Regions from separate parts of the Homo sapiens genome. Here region 1 is linked to region 2. Evidence: promoter capture Hi-C in 16 types of primary human blood cells and fetal thymus (Javierre and others, 2016). All regions are on one chromosome and are shown on one strand. Each heading gives the region's core, a stretch centred on a gene start or on the middle of the fragment in contact. The rest is flanking DNA. Distances are from core to core; before and after follow the strand shown.

Region 1 (4,853 bases), core at 1,899-4,398, 51 kb after region 2:
CACTCATCACACCGTGTCCCTTCTCCTTCTCAGCTGTATACTTATTTCCTCTTATTGTTGCTCTTAGGCCATTTAAACACCTGGAGAATATCTAATTTGGTACTTGGCTCTGAACATGGCAGTAAACCTGTTTATAGTCTTATACACATCCTGCATCCCCCTGCACCATCTGGTCAGTCTCCACAGTCACAGTTGGTAGATGCTCTGAGCCCTTGCCATGGGGCTCTGGATCAGGGATGAAATGAATCCCCCGTAGCCAGTCTCTGAACGGCACTCATGGATTGCAGTCAGTGGCTTCTTCACTGCTTTCCTTTTTCGTTCTTTCTACGTTAGTGAACTTTACTTTACCACAGAGCACCTGCTACTTAATTATTGTGTCTCCCTTTAAATGATGCCACATCACCACTACTTAATATCTGACACCAGACACCAGCAAAAGTTAGAACTGAGTAGGTATTTAGAAAAACAAAAGGACATATGGTCCAGTTCTTAAGCACGAAGTAGTGATCTTTCCATTTAAGCTGTCCATCATGAAATGGCAATGTTCCCAGAATGTTTGAGCTGAAATGGATCTGGGAGACCACCAAGTTCAACTTCGTCATTGTATCAGAGGAAACCGAATCCCAGAGGGGCTGAGCGGCTCATTTATGATTCCAGAGTTGGTCATTGAAAGACAGGTCTCATACCCAGGTCTCTTAAATCCTCTGCCTTTTTCTTCACCACTCCCACCCCCGACCAGTTCTTCTCATTGCTTTGCTGATAACATTACATTTTGTTTTAGATTGCATTTTTTCTTTCCTTTCTAATACCAAGGTCCACATGTTTTTCACCCTTCTTTTAGTATAATTACACATTTGTATATTTATTCTAGTTCAAAATGGATTGAATATGTTTCCATAATTGATTTCTTGTTGTCTAGAAAATTACAGATAACAAACTAGTTTATTAGGTAATTGTTTTCTACTCCCATTTCTCCATAGAAGGTAATTCAAAGGGGATTATGTGACTGCTTACTGAACCAAACTGCATTGCTGCATGTTACTTCTTCATGATGGTTATTTGCTTTCTTCCTTAAACATTAATTAGGAGTCATTGCCATCAGAACCAGAATTTTGAACTTGTTTAAGGAATTACTTTGAACTGTTATAGCACTTTCCTTAATATTACATGTTGATTTGTGTTAATTTACCTTTCCCTTCTATCTATTATTCAGGCTATCCTCTGCTGATTGAAATATTCAAGGTACTGCTGGCTTTCACATGTATATTTAAAGGCACGTGTAAATATTCAACATTATCTTATCAACTTAAAATGAAGAAGATATCAGATCATATTTGCCTGTTAAATTAACAGGAGCCTTCAGGCATATGCATTAAAATAATTTGTGTCAGATACAAAAAGAGTTAGAAGGTGAACTAATTTCAATGAGAATGGAAAATGTGATGTCTAGTAAAAATTACATAAACATATTTGGGGTTAGACCGTCAGTTCATGGTTTGATCCCTGGCAGTAGTGCTAAGATTAACCTGTGATGGCATTTGTCTTCTACCCCAAAAATGACAATACAAATTAGAAGTGTACCTTGAGCATTCCTGACTCCATTCAATGACACTTCTGGGTTGTTTACACTGATAAAATTGCTATTTTTGTTTGTCCTTTTATGTCTGCTCCTTTCATGTATGCCATCACCAAGAGAATTTTTACCAGAACCAAGAAGTTTTCTTTTCCAAGAACAGTTTATCCTCTCTATTTAGTAGCACCCTGCAGTAATTATATTCTGTAACTGCCCAGCCAGAATCTTTACAGAAGTGCACAAAACAACAAAACTATATTCATAATGCCCACATATCACCAGCACATTTTAAATCACAATTTCACAATTATTTAGCTTAGCAAATGTGTTCAAGTTAAGGATCTGAATCTTATCGAAGTGCTCATAACCTTTATTGGCTAGTAAGACAGAGTAAAGGTTAACAAAAAAGATGAACACATCTTTTGTGTGTGTGTGTGTGTGTGTGTGTGTGTGTATGTACCTGGAATTTACGGTCTTTTAATCAGTACAAGAGTTACTATGAATTGTTAGCTGAGAAGTGGACCAAATTTCCAAAATGAATCAGGATATAATTATTAAATATGTTAAAATGAGATTTTACCTGTATTTACCCAACGAAGTTAGACAGAAGGTTAGTGGCAATAAATAATTATCTCTCATTTCTCTGTAATTGTTAAAATAATTTGCATCTATTGATTTTCTTGAAAATGTTATCTTGAAATGTTAAAAATGGAAGAGATGGTAACTTTATCAATTTCAGATTTCATAGCATAAATTTGACTCCTTCCTCGTTTTAAAATTTTTTATTTATGTTTTTTGACACTGATCTCATTGATAGGCTTTCCTCGCTCTGGTAACATATCTCTAGTGCCACTTAAGATAAAAGTAAGTTGGTCCAGATGTCATAAAATGATTTCAAACAAAAGAATTTTGTAACTTATTGGAATAAATGTCAATTGGAAATCACTATGTCTTCTTGAAATACCTGAAAACAAACTCAAGAAGGGTATTGCAAATATCTTATTCCATCCTACAGTTAATTTTTACAAAGCCTTTTTAGAGTTGCTAAAACTCAATGTAGAAATAAAATATCGCTGAGCCAACAAGTTGTTTGAAATATAATTTACTTAAGGCATAATAAGAATATAAAATAACTCTAAAATAAATATTATGTGAACATCTTTAAGTTAAATTAAATTTGGCATAGCTAATTCAATATAAAACAATTGACTTAACAATAAAGAATTTGTTCCCATTGTAATGATTATTTTAAAAATGGTTTATTTTAATATACTGCTTGATAGAAAGAAATGAAAGACACGCTTTATTCTGGGAAAAGCTTTCCTGAGCAATGCCAATATAACCAAACAAACACTGCTAATCATGAGAAGATGACAGAAAACATTTCCAGCCATTCTACAATCTTACATACCTGTAAATATCTTTGGACGGTCCCAACTGACAATGTTAAATTTGTAAGACACCCGACTCCAGAGATGAAAGCAATATTGTGCCAAGATATACAGCAGAGTGTCAGCTTATGTCAGTTTCATGCAAATGGCATGAACTACAGTGAACGATGTGTAAGTTCTGATTGCCACGTAGAAGGACTGAACGATGCTGTTAAAATTAGAGCCACTCAAGCAGTAAGCTTGTCTTCTGACCAACCCTCACTAATCAAGGGTTAGTGGGACTTCTTTGCATAAAAATATAAATGTTGAAAAGGATGTGGCCATATGTGCAAAATAAAAGACAGTTTTGAACATGGAAATAAGTACAACAGGGCAGAATAAGTAAATGTCTAAGGCTTAAATATTCGTCTACAATTGATGGTTTATGAATTACTGGCATGAACAGATGGCCAAGCTTGCTCACATTTTTCTTCTAAATTTTTGAATATTGAATACATTTTATTATGGACTTTGAATGACACATTTGAAATGGTGTTGTCACACACACATGCATACACACACACAAACAGTCAAGTTTGGCATATAAACAGTGAACTAAAATCCACTCCAAAGAGGTTATTTCTTTTGTTAAGACACTTTCTATGTTCAATGATTTTTCCCATAGCAGCTTCTTCTAAAAAGGATTATTTCTCAGGTCACACCAGCTTAGAATCACGTAAGTGGTAATGAAGAACGTTAAATTCTATTTCCCTGGTTCTTGCCCGTCCTTCTTTTAGTGGGACCCTGATCAACTTTAAACCCTTCCCCATCTATTTCTGGGTATCCCTAGGGGTTATCTCAGTGGCTTTGGGCATACCTTGGCAGTTGATAGCTCCTCAGCAACTTGCAAAGCTGTGCACAAGTACCCAGCCACATTTTTGTGCCTGCATTTGAACTGCTTGCAGACAAACGTGATCCCTGCTGGGTCCTTTTACCTCCAGAGATATGAGTGTTATTCCGTCACTCACAGGTGCCAGTGTGTGTCTGGGAGCCTTCAAATAGCCAAGCTGCACTGAGCCTTGAGTCAGAGTAGGGAGGATATCTGCCTTTTCTTGTTTGGTGGTGCTTCACCAGATAAATAGTGCTACCTTGTGTTGTGAAATTTCAATAAAAATACAGGTAGCCTGCATCAGCCCTGATAGGAAGCAGATGGAACCCTCAGCAGGTTTCGTGGGTGGTATGAGTAGGGTTAGAAGCAGCAGCAAGAGATGGCAGGCACTCAGGGACTGCACTAGCACCTGGGAGGGGCAGGCACAGAGTTCCTGGAGGCTGTAGCTGTGAAAGAGGGGATGAGCAGCATGTAGGAGAATGTAGCCATTGCCAAGTTCATGGCCAGAAAGGGAAAAAGCAAGTGGAGCAGCTACCCTGACTTCACTCCACTTCCTCCGTGTGATAGTCTAAAATCTTCTCCATTGACCCCGTTCAACCAGAAGCCAGAGGGGCGGGCAGATCCTGTGATTGAGAACAAAGCAGAGAAAGACAGACGAGGTCTGGAGGCCTAATCAAGAGTATTTGGCACATCTCTTCTCCCCTCTTCTCTCCTACAACATACTAGGCATGTGCCTTAGGAGCTGGGTTGGAGTAGAAATCTTCAAAGCAGATGCCTCACTACAGTTAGGACGGTCCCTCCCTGCTGGGGAACAATGGCAGATTGTAATTGTGGTCCTTGATTCCTTATCCAGAAGTTATTTGAAGCTACAAATAAACTTCTACTGTGTTGACCCAGGCGGTTCACCAGATCTCTTCAGATATGCCTTGTTAGGTGTTGATTTGGGGGCAAATCTCAAAGTCTCACTGGCTTAATCCAGTAAAAAGTTCCGTTTGCTCACATTCAAGCTCCGTATGAGTCA
Region 2 (5,450 bases), core at 463-2,962:
CAATACACAAACTTGCGTTGTCATTCTGACAGGTGAAGACCAAAAATGAAAGCATATCGACAACCACATTTCTTCAACGTGGTAAGTTCCTGGAGATTGTTGTTTTAAAAATGTGCTTGCTGCCTGCCACTCTGCCACCAAAAATAGCCAGTCTGAAGGGGCTAAGTGTTAGAGGACATTCCTGGAAACTAGTTCATCAGAGACCATTTGTGACAAAACATTCTTGAATTATTTTTCACTACCTTCTCTCTCTGGCAAATGGAACCAATTTCTGTCAAAAGAGGTAGGTCTTCTTTATGAATCAAATATACTTCTTACTGCCAAAACGTGAAATGGAAAAACGAACTTAAGCTAGTAGTTTATCTCAGCCATTACAGAGTATCTATTAGTGGGAATCAATGGCGCCAAACACACAATGTACTACAATACTATTTTAGGAGGCAGAAGAAAGGATTGGAAGAAAAAATTATTGGCATTTGAACCAGAAAATCTGGTCAGGGAACACAGAAGTTCTTTGTTAATAGTTCTATAACCTTGAACAAGTTATTTTGCCTTTCTGATCCTGGGTCTTCGGCTATGAAACGCTGCCAAAAATGACTGCTCTGTGTCTTTGTGTCAAAGACTGAAAGCGTCACATCAGTGAAAATTCGGATAGACACACTGCCGCATATAAATCCGGTGCTTTATGATCTCACACTGCACGGATTTGGAAACTACTGCATGTGCACGATTCTCAGCCTAGTTCCCTGCAGGTGAGGGATTTTTTTTTTTTTCCAGAAAGAAAACTGTTAGCTCTGCCCTGAAGATGAGTCCCACAGAGGTTTTGCAGGGTGGAGTTACCGAGAAATTGACTTCGGGGTGAGTAAAACTAAGATCCGGGGAAGGCTGCAGCCACTTTTCCAGGGTAAGGGGCGGTGTCATTTGCTTCCTCATGCGGCAACGACGAAAGTGATTATAAGCCACAGAACGTGGCGCCAGGGTTCACTAGTATAAACCATTTCAGGAGACGAAGCTCCGACCTCCCAGGCACCAAGATCTTTACCAACAACCCGGGATGCTCACTGCAGGAGGGAGCGGGTGAGGAGGACACAGGGATTCGAGGGCGGGACAGACAGGGAGAGGACACAGGTTCCAGAGACTTCTGTTTTAAGGCTCTCGAGGATCCCTGAGAGTGCCCTTGAGGGCTCCAAGCGCGGGGAGCGAGGGCCTGGAAGTGGCGGTTACAGTCCCGGGTCCCGCGCCCTTTCCCGCTCCACTGCTCAGCCAGTTCGGGCGCGCCCAGGGCACCCGCCTCGCGCACCCTTAAGCCCACGCGGGTCTCGGCTCAGACTGTCGCGCCCCACCCGGCCCGCGCCACATCCCACCGGCCCATCCAGTAACGGTTTCTGGACCCGCGGCCTCTCCCCTGCCCCCTACTTCCCAGCTCACGAGAGCCGCAGCGCTGCGCCGTTTGGAGAGGGGTCATCCGCCCCGGAACCGACGTGAGCGCGGGGCCGGCCCGTGGAGGCGGCTGAGGGATCCCCCACTTCCAGCCCGCCCGCTCGGAGCCGAACCCCGAACTCCGTCCCACTGATCCGCGCCCCCAGCCCACCCCGCGCCCGCGCCCCGTCACCCCCGCCGCGCCGCTCCTCCCTCCCGCCCCCTCGCTTCTCCGGCCCCCCCTTCCGCGGCGCGGCTCTCACGCGCAGCCGAATTCGGCGCCGCCTCCATCAGAGCCGAGCCGGCGGCTCCACCGAACGGCCGCGCCTGCCGCCGCCGCAGCTGCAGAACCTTCCGCATCCCCTCCCCGTCCCGCCCCCTAGCCCCAGGCGTCCGGGCCCCCTCCCTCCTTTTCCCCTCTCCCTCCCGCCCCCTCCGCGCTCTCTTTCCCTGCAGCCAGAGCCCGGCCCGCCAGCCGGGCCGGCAGGAGGGCGGCGGCGGCACAACCATGAGCTTTGAGGGCGGCCACGGCGGCAGTCGGTGTCGCGGGGCGGAGAGCGGGGACGCCGAGCCTCCCCCGCAACCTCCCCCGCCGCCGCCGCCGACGCCGCCGCCGGGAGAGCCGGCCCCGGTCCCCGCGGCCCCGCGCTACCTGCCGCCGCTGCCCGCGTCCCCCGAGACCCCCGAGCGCGCCGCGGGGCCAAGCGAGCCGCTAGGGGAGGTGGCCCCGCGGTGCAGGGGAGCGGACGAGCTGCCGCCTCCGCCCCTGCCCCTGCAGCCCGCCGGCCAGGAAGTGGCGGCGGCCGGCGACTCCGGGGAAGGTCCGAGGCGCCTCCCGGAGGCGGCAGCAGCGAAAGGCGGCCCCGGGGAGTCTGAGGCCGGCGCGGGCGGCGAGCGCGAGCGGCGGGGCGCCGGAGACCAGCCCGAGACGCGCTCGGTGTGCAGCAGCCGCAGCAGCAGCAGTGGCGGCGGCGACCAGCGCGCTGGGCACCAGCACCAGCACCACCAGCCCATCTGCAAGATCTGCTTCCAGGGCGCGGAGCAGGTAAGGCCCGGCGAGACCCCGAGGCAGCCGGTGGCGGCTCCAGCTCGCGCCGGTCAAGCTTTCAGCACCACGGACAGCGCACGCCTACCTCCCAGTTTGCCTCCAGTGAGGCTCGTCTGGTTCTGCCCTGTGAGCGCTGGCTCCAATATGCCTTCCCCTTTCCCTTCCTGTGAAGGCAAATAGAAATGTCCCAGTGGTGAATACTGGGTTTAATTTCATCTACACTTCCTTTTTCCTTCCTGGCTTAGGAGCTACATGTTCCTCAGGTGCTTTAGTGATAATGCCAAAAGCGGCTTTTGTGAATTATTCGATGGATTTTGGTTTATGCTTAGAAGCAAACCTGTCAGATGTAAGGTGAAGTCCGTTTTCTACAGATGTATCTTGAGACAGATGTCATATCACAACCAGAAAGGGCAGAGTCTTTCCTTACTGCAAATTTGGGTGACTTAATCTCACGGATGTGAAAAGCATGTGATAGTTTTTACAAGAGAAATAGGAATGGACTTTGAAAGAAAGGCTATTATGCCAACAATTTATATTTTGACAGCAACACAATTCTAAAATTATAAACACCATTGTAGGTGCATGCAAACTTATATGAGAGTAATCATGCAGAGGAAATGATAGCATATGTCCCTTACAAATGTGTGGTCTGAGAAAAGATTAGGTGTAATGTTTTTAAAAGTAAGGAAATTGCATAAGAATATACAGGCTTTCAGGAATATAGTGCCCTAAGACAATATTTATGATGCTACATTTAGAAAAAAAAGCATAATGCCGCTTTCTGGGATGCCATGCGTTTCTTCTTTAGCAATGATTAAGAATAACTGCAGAGGAAATGCATCTGACCATCCACTTAAAAGTTATTAAAGAGATTTAATAGTACAGCTTTCCCCCACGGGTATTGGGAGCTATATCTTGCAGACATTTTGTATGTTGGTAGAACATTTATGTCATAACTCTAAGCAATGTCTTTGAAATAGTTTTAAGACTTAGTTTCATTCCCATCAGAGGTATAAAATTTTAATTTCATTTCCTATGATAGAGCCTGATGCTGTATCCTGAGTAAATGGCTTTGAAAGAAAAGAAAGGAAGCATTAGGTTTTTAAAATAGAGACACAGACACAGATATTCACACTGAGCTGTTTTCTTTTTAGGGTGAGTTGTTGAACCCCTGCCGATGTGATGGGTCAGTTCGGTATACACATCAGCTGTGCCTGCTAAAATGGATCAGTGAGAGAGGTTCCTGGACCTGTGAACTTTGCTGTTATAGATACCATGTTATAGCCATTAAAATGAAACAACCTTGCCAGGTAAGCAGTTTCAACATTTATTTTTCCTGAAATAATTTTGTTAACATGAATGCACTTAAGCTTAGTTATTACTAAGGATATTTACTTATGCTACTTAAAAACATTTTGTGAAAATTACACTAAAACCAAGATTTAGAATTTGTAAACATGTGTTTTTGAGAAAGCCATGACATTTTATCTGAGAAACTCAAAAGACATTTTAATCGAATGGTTTCCTTTATTAATTTTTTACTTATTGATAAAATGATACCAGTCTTTTTTCTAAAAAGGCAAGTTGGTAAAATGACTTGTACCACACTTAAATCAATTTTATTCATTAGAAATGTTACACAATTGATTTTATTAATATTTTGTTAACTTAAGCATTTAAGCTCTAATGGGCTCCATTTATGGAGAACAGATACAAGTAAAACAAAACTTCACTGGTATGAAAACTTTGGTTGAACCTATTAGTTCTAATCTGAATGTTATTTCCACTTAACCAGGCTTTCTTTATCATGTGATGTTCTTTTGCAGTTAAATTTTGGCTGATTTTCTTCTTTGCTGTGTTCAACTACATAGTGGATGCAGAAGTATTCCCAACAGTTACTCTCAATAATACTACTGAACTAGTATTCTTACATATTCTTAAACTTTTTGTGTATAATCACATAATAACATAATACACATAAATCTACAAATGCCCTGGAAAATAGGCCTAAAATTTATCGTGAAACAGATTCAGGTTCTTTGAACAGACAGGTAGAATATAAAATATTAAGAATGACATCTTAAGGAAAAGCAGAATAATGTGTAATTAATGTTATCTGGTAGGCTGAAGTTAAGTAGACATAAAAGAATAGGGTTCAAAACAGAGACAAAGGAGTAATAGAAATAAAAAGAATAGGGAATTGCAAAGTTGGGAGGGGGAAAAGTAATAAATTCTCGTGTTCCTTGTTGCTATCTAAATCACCCAATTTAGTTTTTATTCAGCAATGTAATATAGGTGGAACTACCAGTGTTTGCAGAAGGAACCTGCAAGCTGAATTACTAGTGCATTAATAATTTAAATTTCATAGTTTAAAATTTTTGTATCCTTTATATAGTTTGCAATTAATTTGCATATCTGATAGTCTCCATTTAATGCATGATTAGCAACCACAAAATGAAAATATGTATTTCTCAAGCTGACCTAGGGCTTGTGAATAATTGGAAAGAGAAAGCATAAATAATATGGATGAGTGATATTATCATGCTGAAGACAGGCACAAACCTGACACCTTTTCCAAGAACCTCTGATTGAACTACTTGGGTATCAATTTATGAATCCATCATAGTTGTCTTGAAAAACAGATGAAACCATTTTCAAAGACTAGCATATAGGTAGTATAATTGGATCTACAACAGTTTTATCAGTAGAAGTATGTGGGAAAATAAGAAATGAGAGAGTTTTGGGCTCTAGAGAAAAGTTCCATGAGAAGAGCTATGGTCAGACACTCATTGGCTGAAACAGAAGACTATTTCAAGAGCTTGAACTTATGGCAACTATATGTTAATTCATTTAGGATGATTAATTTTGAAGTAAATAGAGATAAGTACTTGATGGACATTTTAAAATAGGAGATCAAGAGCTGGGGCAAAAAAAAAAAATACTATTTACTAATTTTAATCCTATAGCAAAAAGAATTGGTTAC

What was found. The method cuts DNA at HindIII sites, captures the fragments that hold promoters and counts their contacts. A CHiCAGO score of 5 or more calls a contact.
Region 1: a contact is called between the fragment with the promoter of MARCHF11-AS1 here and the fragment with the promoter of MARCHF11 in region 2, in 1 of 17 cell types (total B cells). The highest score is 5.2, in total B cells.

The regions. Positions count from the first base shown.
Region 1 is chr5:16,127,426-16,132,278 of GRCh38, reverse strand. It overlaps MARCHF11-AS1 (MARCHF11 antisense RNA 1), which reads right to left and starts at 3,148. Exons shown (of 2, transcript XR_001742612.2): 1 at 2,985-3,148. All of the region lies in intron 2 of MARCHF11 (membrane associated ring-CH-type finger 11), which reads left to right. The HindIII fragment of the contact is 312 bases long and covers 2,894-3,205 here.
Region 2 is chr5:16,176,053-16,181,502 of GRCh38, reverse strand. It overlaps MARCHF11 (membrane associated ring-CH-type finger 11), which reads left to right and starts at 1,712. Exons shown (of 4, transcript NM_001102562.3): 1 at 1,712-2,464; 2 at 3,622-3,777. The coding sequence starts at 1,928. MARCHF11-DT (MARCHF11 divergent transcript) reads right to left here and starts at 1,262. Exons shown (of 2, transcript NR_149044.1): 1 at 1,063-1,262. It overlaps LOC105379640 (a long non-coding RNA gene), which reads left to right and starts at 699. Exons shown (of 3, transcript XR_001742613.2): 1 at 699-858; 2 at 1,004-1,077; 3 at 1,424-1,558. The HindIII fragment of the contact is 7,324 bases long and covers 1-2,524 here.